Linked DNA regions of Homo sapiens: region 2 is linked to region 1. The links are contacts of gene promoters, found by promoter capture Hi-C in blood cells and fetal thymus (Javierre and others, 2016). All regions are on one chromosome and are shown on one strand. The core of a region is centred on a gene start or on the middle of the fragment in contact, and the rest is flanking DNA. Distances in the headings are between cores, read along the strand shown. Region 1 holds the start of FLVCR2 (FLVCR choline and putative heme transporter 2). Region 2 overlaps TMED10 (transmembrane p24 trafficking protein 10).

Region 1 (6,037 bases), core at 1,831-4,330:
TGTATTTCTCCTTACCCTTCAAAGTGTACCTATAGGTACTGATAGATAGAACATCATAAAGATAGATATGCTACATAGTAAGAACATCATAAAGATAGATATGCTACATAGTAAGCTGCTCAATACATGTTTTTTCAATGGGATGAATACAGAATATTTCTCTCTATGTAGTATCTACCCAATATTTATAGAGATGACCCCAACACCCTACCCCCCACATTAGGAATCAGCCAAGAGTCATCCCTACCCTGGTGGCTCCCAGAATATGATCATTATTATTGAAAACAGTTTATGCATATTAGCTTGTTTAATTCTCACAGCAATTCTATGAGGCAGGTTTTTGTTTGTTTTGTTTTTTTGTTTTTGAGACAGAGTCTCGCTCTGTCTCTCAGGCTGGAATGCAGTAGTGCCATCTCAGCTCACTGCAGCCTCTGCCTCCCAGGTTCAAGTGATTCTCCTGCCTCAGCCTCCCAAGTAGCTGAGATTACAGGCATGTGCCACCACACCTGGCTAATTTTTGTATTTTTAGTAGAGACGGGGTTTCACCATGTTGGCCAGGGTGGTCTTGAACTCCTGACCTCAAGTGATCCACCCATCTCGGCATCCCGAAGTGCTGAGATTACAAGTGTGAGCCACCGTGCCAGGCTGGAGGCAGGTATTTTTAATCCTTATTTGATAGATTCAGAAACTGAAGAATAGAGAGGTCAAGTGACTTGCTCAAGATACCAAAGCTAAGAATGACAAAACAGAGCTTCAAGTCTAAGCAGACCCAACCCAGATCTCACAACAGATCCAGCTCGTTCCACCACAAAAGCAATTCCAAATCTCACTTGAATCCCAGGTTAGACCCCTTGGAATCTCTCACCAAGCTGAAGGGCTGCCCCAGAAGAGCTCATGGGAAAGGCCACGTGGAAGGAGCACCCATTTTATTGCTGCTTGTTCTGATGCTATTTCACTATAGGACGCTGAGTAACACACCCGCCTCTCCAGGCCTCAGTTTCCTTATCTGTAAAATGAAGTTAAGAATATATTATGAAGAGTTTTGGAAGAGGCCCATGATGACCGAGGGAAAAGAAGCAGTGAGAGGTCTCAGAAGGCCTTCTAAAAGAACAGAGTTCTGTGCTCCCTGGAGAATGATGGGAAACACAGGAGGAATAGTGACAATACGAGATGTTAAATTACTGTAGAAATTCTTAGATCTGAGTCTGAACTCCCTCTCCAAATATTCCATTATAATCCAAGACTCTATAGTTTCTACCAAAAAGTAGGTGCCTTCAAGCAGGGAGTGATCATTTGAATCTAGTTCTCTCCTGGGAATCAGTGGTTCTAACTTGGCTGCACGTTTGGATGACCAGCGGAGCTTGTGACATGCAGATGTTCAGGTCCACCCTCGGAGATCGCTAAATGGGGTGTTGCCCGAACACTTGGGATATTAAGAGTTTCTTCATATGATTCTAATGTGCAGACAAAATGGAGAGCCACTTCCCAGAGCTTCAAGTTATTCATTTTCTGGTCTGAAGTTTAACAAAGAAAAAAAAAATAAAGAAGCAGTGATGCCCAGTAGCTCTCAAAATTTAATGTGTAAACAAATGAATCTCCTGGGCATCTTGTTAAAATGCAGCTTTCAATTCAGTGGGTCTAGGTTGGGCCTGACAACCTTCTTGGTTGTTTTGTGGTTGCCGTTTTGTTTTTTAAGGCCTTAACACTGGAGGGGATTCTGGCCTTCTAAAAAGCTCCCACAGGTGCCCACGCTGCTAACCACAGACTGTGCTTGAATAGCTAGGCTACAGCTTGAATGATTACAGACTTGAACGAGAATTATGGCTCTTCTTGCCAGCTGGGACCTTCAGAAAGAAGTTACTTCACTTCTCTGAGTCTGGGTTTTCTTGTCTATAAAATTTAGGCCAGCAATAGTAACTTTATCACAGAATTCTTGTGATGCATAAATGAGCTAATGCATTCAATTTGTTTAGCACTGTACAACAAATGTTAGCTTTTTGCTAGGATAGCCAGCATTCGCGGAATGCTTACTATGTGGCAGGAATTTTCTAAGTGCATTCGTGTATTAATTCATTCAAGTCTCAGAACAACACGGTGAGGTAGGTACTATTATTTCATCATTTCCATTTTACAGATGAAGAAACTGAAGCGCAGAGAGGTGGAGTTCCTTGGTCTACAGTGGCACCTCATTGTAGCTAAGCTGGTGTTTGAACTCAGGGAGAATTTGGGCTCCTTACCAGGATCCCTCGCCAAGGACAGAGGTCAGTGCAACGAGTCGAGGGTTTGCCCTTTGAAATGGGCTAGGACCGGCAGGTGGCAGACTAGGGCTGCTTGAGTTCAAAGACCGCTTCCAAGACCAAGCCCGGAGCCAGCTCTGTGCTAAGCGTTCCATCACACAACCGCGGACAGCTTCTTCGGCTTCTTCAAACTCTCCTTTCCCTCCCCCGCACCCTAGGGTCTTCGCCCAGAATCCATCAGGAAAAATAGCCCCACATAACAGGTTCAAATCTAACCTCCCCAAGACAAAACCACGTCCGCAGGGAAAGAAGCGAGTAAAGCGAGTTTTCTGTAACTCCCCTTTAACCCAGGAGCGCAACCAGCCCGGGAAATCTACAAATCTCTCTTTAGTTCAGCAAAGGGCTGGGAGCCTAAGCCAAGGGGGAGAAAGTTGGGGAATCCCTCTTGAATTCCCCAGAACACTTAGGTGGCGCCGGGCTTTGGTGCACGCGCGCAGGGCATGCGGACAGGCACCGGAGAGGCTCTATTTTGGGCATTACTTCGGGAAGGCGGATCTTCTTGCAGGGTCCGCTGATAGCGGGTGGCAAATGAATATGAGGGGCAGTGCAAAGGGTGGGGGTTAACCGGGCGGTTTCCATGGCGCCCGGGGCGTGGGGGAGGAATGCATCCCGCAAGCTGTGGCGAAACAACTGCTCTGCCCGGAGGACCGGGCTCGAGAAGGCAAGAGACACTGGGTCGGGGGTGGAGTGGTGGCGGGGGGGTTGGGGGCGGAAGAAGCCAGGCAGGACGGGGGCGGGGCGGTCACGTGTGCCCGACTGGGCGAGGCCCCAAGCTGGCCCGGGAGAGGACTCTGCGGGCGAAGTGGCTGCGCAAGGAGAGAACTTTTCCTGCACAAGGAACGCCTCGTGGGGAGACCCAAGGCAGGAGCGGTCCGGAGCCGGCTGCGGCGTGTGCGGCCGGCCTTGGGACAGCGATCGCCGCGGGTGGCAACAGAGAGCCCCAAGCAAAAGTGGGAGCAGGAGCTTGGAGGTGAGCACAGGAAGCCCCACTTGAGGCTTTTACGCAGCCTCTAGTCTCTGTTTCTTCTGGAATAGGCAAGTGTCCTTTCAACTCTAAGAGACCAGCAGAGGCCACTGTCCCTTAAGACTGCCGGAGTCCTCACCACTTCTCCAGGATTCCAGAGGAGACTGTGGCGATGGTGAATGAAGGTCCCAACCAGGAAGAGAGCGATGACACCCCTGTGCCGGAGTCCGCACTCCAAGCGGACCCCAGCGTCTCGGTCCATCCCAGCGTCTCGGTCCATCCCAGCGTCTCCATCAACCCCAGCGTCTCTGTCCACCCCAGCAGTTCGGCCCACCCCAGTGCCTTAGCCCAACCCAGTGGCTTGGCTCACCCCAGTAGCTCGGGCCCTGAGGACCTCAGCGTGATCAAGGTGAGCAGGCGCCGTTGGGCCGTGGTCCTGGTGTTTAGCTGCTACTCCATGTGCAACTCCTTTCAGTGGATCCAGTACGGCTCCATCAATAACATCTTCATGCACTTCTACGGTGTCAGTGCCTTTGCCATTGACTGGCTGTCCATGTGCTACATGCTGACTTACATCCCTCTGCTCCTGCCAGTGGCTTGGCTGCTGGAGAAGTTCGGCCTGCGCACCATTGCTCTCACTGGCTCGGCTCTCAACTGCCTGGGGGCCTGGGTGAAGCTGGGCAGCCTGAAGCCGCATCTCTTTCCGGTCACCGTGGTGGGCCAGCTCATCTGCTCTGTGGCCCAGGTTTTCATCCTGGGCATGCCCTCCCGCATCGCTTCCGTCTGGTTCGGGGCTAATGAGGTTTCAACAGCCTGCTCCGTGGCTGTCTTTGGCAATCAGGTAGGTAGAACAGTTTGTGAATGTTCCCAGGGGCGTGTGTTAGATTGCACCTAACTATTGGGTGTGGTAGGCTATAATTTGCTGATTGTCCAACAGTGTTTGTGACTCTGGGTGACAGTAACTGGGTGTGACAGGCAGTGATTGTGATGCTGTAAGAGAGGCGGGAAACAAAAGCAGGGGGACCTGCTCTTTCATCCACAGTTGCTCTTGCCCCAGCCAAAAGCATGCTTCTAGAACATACTATACCTTCGCTGTGTCGTTCTCGAACCTGTGTCAGTCCACCAACTTAGACCTGTAATTTCAGGAATGCTCTTCTGTCTGGCAGCAGCCCCTGGGCATCAGACTATTCTGGTGTCATCAGAACTTGGCAGTGCTTTCAGTTGGACCAACCAGCTTTCCTAGAGTGCAGTATCTCCTCTACTGCATAGAATTGCAAAGCCATGCCTGGTGGTGTTTGGCACTGCTTTTACCTTGTTTTACACACAGCTGAAGCCAGGACAGTGGGAGCAGTGCTTTGTGCCAAACTCCTTGCCTGGGATTTAGAGCCAAGTCCAGCAGGATGGAGTAGAAATCTCACTCTGAGTTTCCATGGCCTAGAAAGGGTAGTTCATGTCTTAATCTTTTTCTCTTTCTTTCTTATTGGAAGGAGAAGCTCAAATTCTTTGCATCTCAATGTGGTTATGATCCAGAAAGCTGGGCAGGTTGTGAACCTGAATGCCGTCTCCAAATACTCGAAGCAAATATTTATGGGAATATTTAAAGCAAACGTCCTTTAGCCAGACCACTGCCTCCCAGTCTCGCATCTTTCCAAGCACGTACAGTCCTGGCTGTGTGTTTAACAAAGGATTGGTAATCCTGTCTCACACGTCCATGTGAAGAGACCACCAAACAGGCTTTGTGTGAGCAACAAGGCTGTTTATTTCACCTGGGTGTAAGCAGGCTGAGTCTGAAAAAGGAGTCAGCAAAGGGTGGTGGATTATCATCAGTTCTTATAGGTTTTGGGATAGGTGGTGGAGTTAGGAGCAATGTTTTTCAGACAGGGTGGATCTCAAAGTACATTCTCAAGGGTGGGGAGAATTACAAAGAGCCTTCTTAAGGGTGGGGGAAATTACAAAGTACATTGATCAATTAGGGTGGGGCGAAACAAATCACAATGGTGGAATGAAATCAGTTAAGGCTATTTTCACTTTTTTTGTGGATCTTCAGTTGCTTCAGGCAATCTGGATTGCCTGAAGCATGCAGGTCACAGGGGATAGGATGGCTTAGCTTGGGCTCAGAGGCCTGACATTCCTGTCTTCTTATATTAATAAGAAAAGCAAAACAAAATAGTGAAGTGTTGGAGCAGCGAAAAATTTTGGGGGTGGTATGGAGAGATAATGGGAGATGTTTCTCAGGACTGCTTCGAGCGGGATTAGGGGCAGCGTGGGAACCTACAGTGGGAGAGACTCAGCTGAAGAACGGTTTTGGGGTAAGGGGTGATACTGTGGGGTTGTTAGAAGAAACATTGGTCGTATAGAATGATTGGTGATGGCCTGGATGCGGTTTTGTATGAATTGAGAAACTAAACGGAAGACACAAGGTCTGAAAAAGAGAAGGAGAAAAACAGGTATTAAAGGACTAAGAATTGGGAGGACCTAGGACATCTAATTAGAGAGTGTCCAAAGGGGTCCAAGGGGATTTAGCATAATTACTTGTTTGTTTGGTGAGTTTTTGGGCTCTATTCTTGACAGAGTCCTCTTTTTTAAGTTTGAAGCTGAGCTTGGTGAGGTGTGTTTTTAAAAGACCGTTAGTCCATTCTACCTTTCTTGAAGATTGAGGACGGTAAGGGGTATGAAGGTTTTACTGAATACCAAGAGCCTGAGAAACTGCTTGGGTGATTCCACTAGTAAAGGCTGGTCCGTTATTGGACTGTATAGAGGTGGGAAGGCCAAACTG
Region 2 (6,037 bases), core at 2,422-4,921, 440 kb before region 1:
TAAATTATTTAAAGTTCCCTAAATAGAAACTTGCAAAAGAAACTGGAAGTGAAACTATGGCTGTGCCTCTGCCAGCTGAAAATGATATTAAAAAAAAAATTACTTTAAAGCCTACTGAATCCCACAGCCTTTGCTTCTTTTTTTTTTTTTTTTTTTTATTTTTGTTGTTGTTGTTGTTAAAGGACAATAGTCCAGAGACCTAAAACCCGAAAAACAATGATGGAATTAAACCTGGTACTGAAGATGGCTTTTGTAGATTACAGCCCCCCACAAGCTGTTCCCAATCCCTTTCCAGTAATAAAACTTATTTTTTAGTTGTACAACCAACACATAAATATATTCTTTGGCTAAAAATTTAAACTATCCAGAAGCAAAGAGAATATAAACCAAAAGTCTACCTTCATGGTTCCTCAATTCCCACATTGCTTTCCAGAGGTAAAGATGCTTATAAACTTGATGTATTATCTTTCCACACCTTTTCTTCTGAGACACTATGCTTTTGTATGTAAATGTACACAGAAAAATATAACTTAAAATCTATTTATAAATGGCATACTACACACATTGTTCTATAGCTTTTTTCCATTTAGTAAGATCTTTCCAAAAATGTCAGTGCTTATCAATTCATCTTATTCTTAACTGCTGCACAGCATTCCACACAGCTAGTATTCCACATTGTTTAGTTAATCATTCAATTCCCAACCCCTTTTCTAGTACAGGTGCTACTTCAGACTCTACACCTCTATTCATAACCAAACAGTCAAATTCCTATCTTCAAAGTTGATTTTATTTCCTCAACAAAATCTCTGCTGAGGCCAAGCGTGGTGGCTCACACCTGTTATCCCAATACTTCGAGAGGCTGAGGCAGGAGGATCACTTGAGCCTGGGAGGTCAAGGCTGCAGTGAGCCAAGATCATGCCACTATACTCCATCCTGGGAGACAAACTGAGACTCCGACTCAAAAAAAAAAAAAAAAAATCTATTGAATCCCATCTTTCATCCAGAAAATTATTTTCAGACCTTCATTAGTGGGATGAAGGTCTCATTTTGGTCTCATTTCCTAGAAGCCATTTTTGCCTAATAAGTACCTTCACTCATGATACTAATTTAAAATCTAGAAATCTTAAAGAAATCTCAAGAGACTAAAACAGTACTGAAATCTAGCTTGCCATTCCAAACACCTAGTACACCATGGATACTCAATAGTAAAAAACAACAATCATGGATATATTTCTATGTTGAATCTAAACCTAGAAATCCAAATAATATTTGGAGGAAATCAAAGAACAAAGATCTTTTCAAACCACCAAAATCTGACGGACTTAACAATTAAATGCTATTAAGGAAAGTAATTCCGCCTTCCTCCATGTGAGAACACAGTGAGGAGGCAGTATGCATTCAGAAGAGGACCCTCACCAGAACCTGACCACACTGGCACCCTGATCTTGAACTTCCTAGACTCCAGAACTATGAGAAATAAATTTCTGTTGTTTATTCTTTTTGAGATGGACTCTTGCTCTGTCACCCAGATTCTCCTGCCTCAGCCTCCCAAGTAGCTGGGATTACAGGCACGTGCCACCACGCCCAGCTAATTTTTGTATTTTTAGTAGAGACAGGGTTTCACCATGTTGGTCAGGCTGGTCTCGAACTTGTGACCTCATGATCCGCCCTCCTCGGCCTCCCAAAGTGCTGGGATTACAGGCGTGAGCCACTGGGCCTGGCCTGTTTATTTTTACAAAAGAAAAAAATTAGCCAGGTGTGGTGGCTCACGCCTGTAATCTCAGCACTTTGGGAGGCTGAAGCGGATGGATCACTTGAGACCAGGAGTTTGAGACCAGCCTGGCCAACATGGTGAAACCCAGTCTTTATTAAAATTACAAAAATTAGCTGGGCATGGTGGCGCATGCCTGTAGTCCCAGCTACTCAGGAGGCTGAGGCACGAGAATCCTTTGAACCTGGGAGGCAGAGGTTGCAGTGAGCTGAGATGGCACCGCTGCACTCCAGCCTGGGCTGGGTGGACTCTGTCTCAAAAAAATAAATAAATGAAGAAGTAGTAGTAGTAGTCAGTGGTTTAAAACAAAAAACAAAAAACCTTCACTGCAGGCAGGGCACAGTGGCTCATGCCAGTAATACCAGCACTTTGGGAAGCCAAGGCAGGTGGATTGCTGGAGACCAGGCTGGGCAACACAGCAAGACCCCATCTCTATTACAAAGTAGTAATAATAATAAAGAAAAAAAAACTTTATTGCAAGAATATATAACAATAGACTTTTATTACCAGCTTAAAACAAATATAAAAAAGTTTCTTGATTTTTTTTAAACATTTTAAGGCCTTAACGTTTTTTTCTGAGTTCTTATTATGTGCAAGGTACCAAGGTAAGTTATGATCTTAAGCTCTCACAGCTTATATAGTAAGTTATAACCATAATATATGGCTTTATGTAGTAACTTCTATAACAAAAAATACACATTAAAAACAGTTCTAGTTGGGAGGACAAAGTGAAGCTTAACAGGAAGTGGGTGAGCTGGGTCTCACAAGTTGGGCAGGACTTTTGAGAGGGCATTCAAGGCTGAGGGGAACCTGTAAACCAAAACACGGAGGGAGTAAAGTGCAGGCATGTTTAGCAACTACGAATAGTCTAGACATAAGTAGTCTGGTGTGCTAGAAACTAGACTATAGGGTATGTGTGCATGTACACACATAACTGCCACACACTTGTGCTTGGGGAGGGTAGGGGATAATAGCAAATAAAAGGCTCAAAAGTTAGGCTGAGACTAAATTAGGGAAGGGGATGAAAAAGGTAGTATAATGAATCAGAGCCATTCATATATGCTCACAATGTAGTATATTTTGTAATCTCATTTAATCCTCGTAACCCTATAAGGTGAATATTTTTATCCTTAAGTTTTGCAGATGAGGAAACTAAGGCTCTGAGGTATTAAATAATTTGCCCAAAGTATCACAGCTTGGTGCAGTTGGCATTAGAATCCAAGTCTATGTGAGTTTATTCTGTAAGTACTAGAAATTTAATAAAGAAAACCAGATGAGTATACTAAGTTTTTCCTGAATCAAAGGTGAAATGAACAAGCTATATTAGGCCACAAGGATCTATATAAGTTGTCCTGTTTGCTTGACTAATAAAGTTTGACTAATAAACTTCCTGGGTTTCCCATTGCTATTATTTTTGCAGGGCAACAGAGTAAAATTTTAAAACAAATCATGGTAAGTATTCTCAAGAAGACGCTCTTTACTTGCTCTGGACTAAGCATTCAATACATAGCATTGAGGCTTTATATCACAGTACAAAAAGCTAAAAAATCCTCAATATCAAAATTCCCACTTTCTGTTGTTCTGCTCTTGTAAGCAGTTGATTGAACTGTTCAGAGTATCTGTAAAAATGCCAAATTATACATGTTTCATGAAGGCAGGCTGGTATTCTATTCTACTCTCCTTCATCACTGGAAGCATGAGGTATGTTTTGCCAAGTCTGTAAGACAATGTGCACCACAGGTTCTCCAATAGGGGGTGATATCCCCCTGGCAAGCTGCATGTAGTTGTTAAATAATCAAAGGATGTTATAGTTACAAGGTGCTTCATTTTGCAGTGAGTCCCTCATTTTTCAAATGAGGAAACTAAAGATTCCATAAAGTTACTCAGCCCTTTGGGTGTCCAACCAAAATTAACAGTACCATGGTCTCTTAACTCCCTACCCAGGGTGATCACAGCATTTAAACTGCCAAACTCTGCTGTAAAATTCGAGAACAGAATCCCTGACTTCCAAAAGCATTTATGCTCTCTGTACCCAAATCTGACCTATCTTTCAAGCCTCCTTGAAAGCCTCCTTCAACCACTCTTGTCCACACTGTCTTCCCTGAAGCCCTACAACACATACTGTGTCACACAGTTAACACTCAATCATATATTGTCATATTCACAAATTGTTTTATTTTTATCCTGTCCCTCCACACTAGTTTGGCTCCTGAACTCAAGGAAATTAAAATGATTTATAGTTTATATAGTCGTAAAGACCTGAGACTTGGTAAACACTTGTAATTGACCTGTTCTGCCCACTCTATGCCTTCTTCAAAGAAGCCAACTTTCTCAAAGTAGCTAAGTGCTGCTGGTCCCCTGAAGCAAGTGTTTCTTGTATACTAAAAGCACTCTGCATTGATTTTTTTTCTTTCTTTTTTTTATTTTTTTGAGATAGAGTTTTGCTTTGTCACCCATGCTGGAGTGCAGTGGCACGATCTTGGCTCACTGCAACCTCTGCCTCCCAGGTTCAAATGATTCTCCTGCCTCAGCTTCCCGAGTAGCTGGGATTACAGGCGCCTGCCACCACACCCAGCTAATTTTTGTATTTTTAGTAGAGACAGGGTTTCACCATGTTGGCCAAGTTGGTCTTGAACTCCTGACCTCAGGTGATCCACCTGCCTCAGCCTTCCAAAGTGCTGGGATTACAGGTGTGAGCCACCGCGCCCAGCCTGCATCTATTTTCATGAGGCCCGCCGCCTAGGAGAAAGCCTTCTCTACCACCATATCTATTAACATCATTCTTACTGGTCATGGTAGGTACTGTTTGGAAAAGCTACAAGTTACAAAGCCTTTTTCTGTATAACACCTCCAAAATACCAGTAAAATTAAACTCTTCTAAAACCATATCCAAATCTTCCATTATAATGAAGATTTGAATCTAAAGAGTTCACAGAGTTATATGTAACTGTACCAAGAAAAGGTATTAATTCTCTGAAAAAACTGCTTCTTAAAACAGAGGTGTTAATCTAACCTCTAGGGAATCTCTAAATTCTTTTCCTTGGTGGAGCATCAAGATCCAAGAGAGAAGCTTCTTGTGACAAGACAAATTCAGTCAAAGTAGTTTGCTGCCTCCATGCCTCCCACCACAGCCCCCACCAACTCCAGGAGCACAGCAATAAATGTGAAGACCATCTAGTCTAACACAAGCAAGATAAACATAACAGAGCTGGCACAGTGGCTCATGCCTGTAATCCCAGCACTTTGGGAGGCCGAGGTGGCCAGATCACTTGAGGTCAGGAGTTGGAGACCAGCCTGGCCTACATGGTGAAACCCTGTCTCTACTAAAAATACAAAAATTAGCTGGGTGTGGTGGTGCACACTTGTAATCCCAGCTACTCGGGAGGCTGAGGCAGAATAATTGTTTGAACCCGGGAGGCAGAGGTTGCAGTGAGCTAAGATCACGCCACTGCACTACAGCCTGAATAACTGAGTGATACTCTGTCTCAAAAAAAAAAAAAAAAAGGACTTTGGATCTAGTACATGGAATCAGAGTTCCTCCTTCCTGAGAGCACTCAGAGAAACAGAACTTTTGGAAAGTCTTCAGCTGTTGCTCCAACCAGGGCAGCTGTGTTTTTGGAATATAGATTGATAGCAAATGACAGACAAATAGAATCGCCTAGGCAAAGCGGTATTTTACTCGTGGGACACACAGCCCAGGAGTTAGAAGATGTGTCAGATAGCTCCTTCTTTGTCGGACAGTAATTGCCTGCATTCTCCCAACTGCACAGACAGTAAGTCCCTACAAACAACTGCTCTAGTTCACAGATGACAAACTAAAAAGAAGTGGCTCGGTTCACATCCTGAATCTACAAAGATACACCCTCTGAAGGGCAGAAGTGAGACAGTGGTCAGAGGTTCATAAAATAAAATGCAAGAAATCAAAATCAAAAGTGCTTTATTTCCGAGGACAAAGGCATTCTTTCTCTTTAAAGAATTCAAACAACAAGACTTAATGCTTCTTCACAGTATGACAAGCATTCTGTCTTCCAAATAATATCATCTTACATTTGTATTGTGTTACATAGCAATTTCACATGGATTAATTAATAACAATTTAGGTAGGTAGTGTGGTACAATTACTATTCAATCTTACAGGACCACATGGGATTTCAGAATTATGAGTCCACAGATATGAGGGAGAGATGTGTTGGACATGAAAATTAAAGAAGTATGCCACATTCCCGAATCTTAATGCTGATGCCAAAGATTCCAAATCCTCTGGAG

Evidence for each region. Contacts are between HindIII fragments. The CHiCAGO score rates a contact against its expected background, and 5 or more counts as called.
Region 2: a fragment that was not itself captured here is called in contact with the fragment with the promoter of FLVCR2 in region 1 in 1 of 17 cell types (activated CD4 T cells); the score reaches 6.8 in activated CD4 T cells.

Annotation. Positions count from the first base shown.
Region 1 is chr14:75,575,540-75,581,576 of GRCh38, forward strand. FLVCR2 (FLVCR choline and putative heme transporter 2) reads left to right here and starts at 3,081. Exons shown (of 10, transcript NM_017791.3): 1 at 3,081-4,102. The coding sequence starts at 3,434. It overlaps FLVCR2-AS1 (FLVCR2 antisense RNA 1), which reads right to left and starts at 4,049. Exons shown (of 3, transcript NR_110552.1): 1 at 2,238-4,049; 2 at 866-1,006. RefSeq lists an enhancer at 2,187-2,246 and a silencer at 2,957-3,026. The HindIII fragment of the contact is 6,290 bases long and covers 1-6,037 here.
Region 2 is chr14:75,138,676-75,144,712 of GRCh38, forward strand. The region is part of intron 3 of TMED10 (transmembrane p24 trafficking protein 10); the gene reads right to left. Among named protein-coding and RNA genes, the nearest start is that of NEK9, 15 kb to the left of the region's middle. The HindIII fragment of the contact is 2,336 bases long and covers 2,504-4,839 here.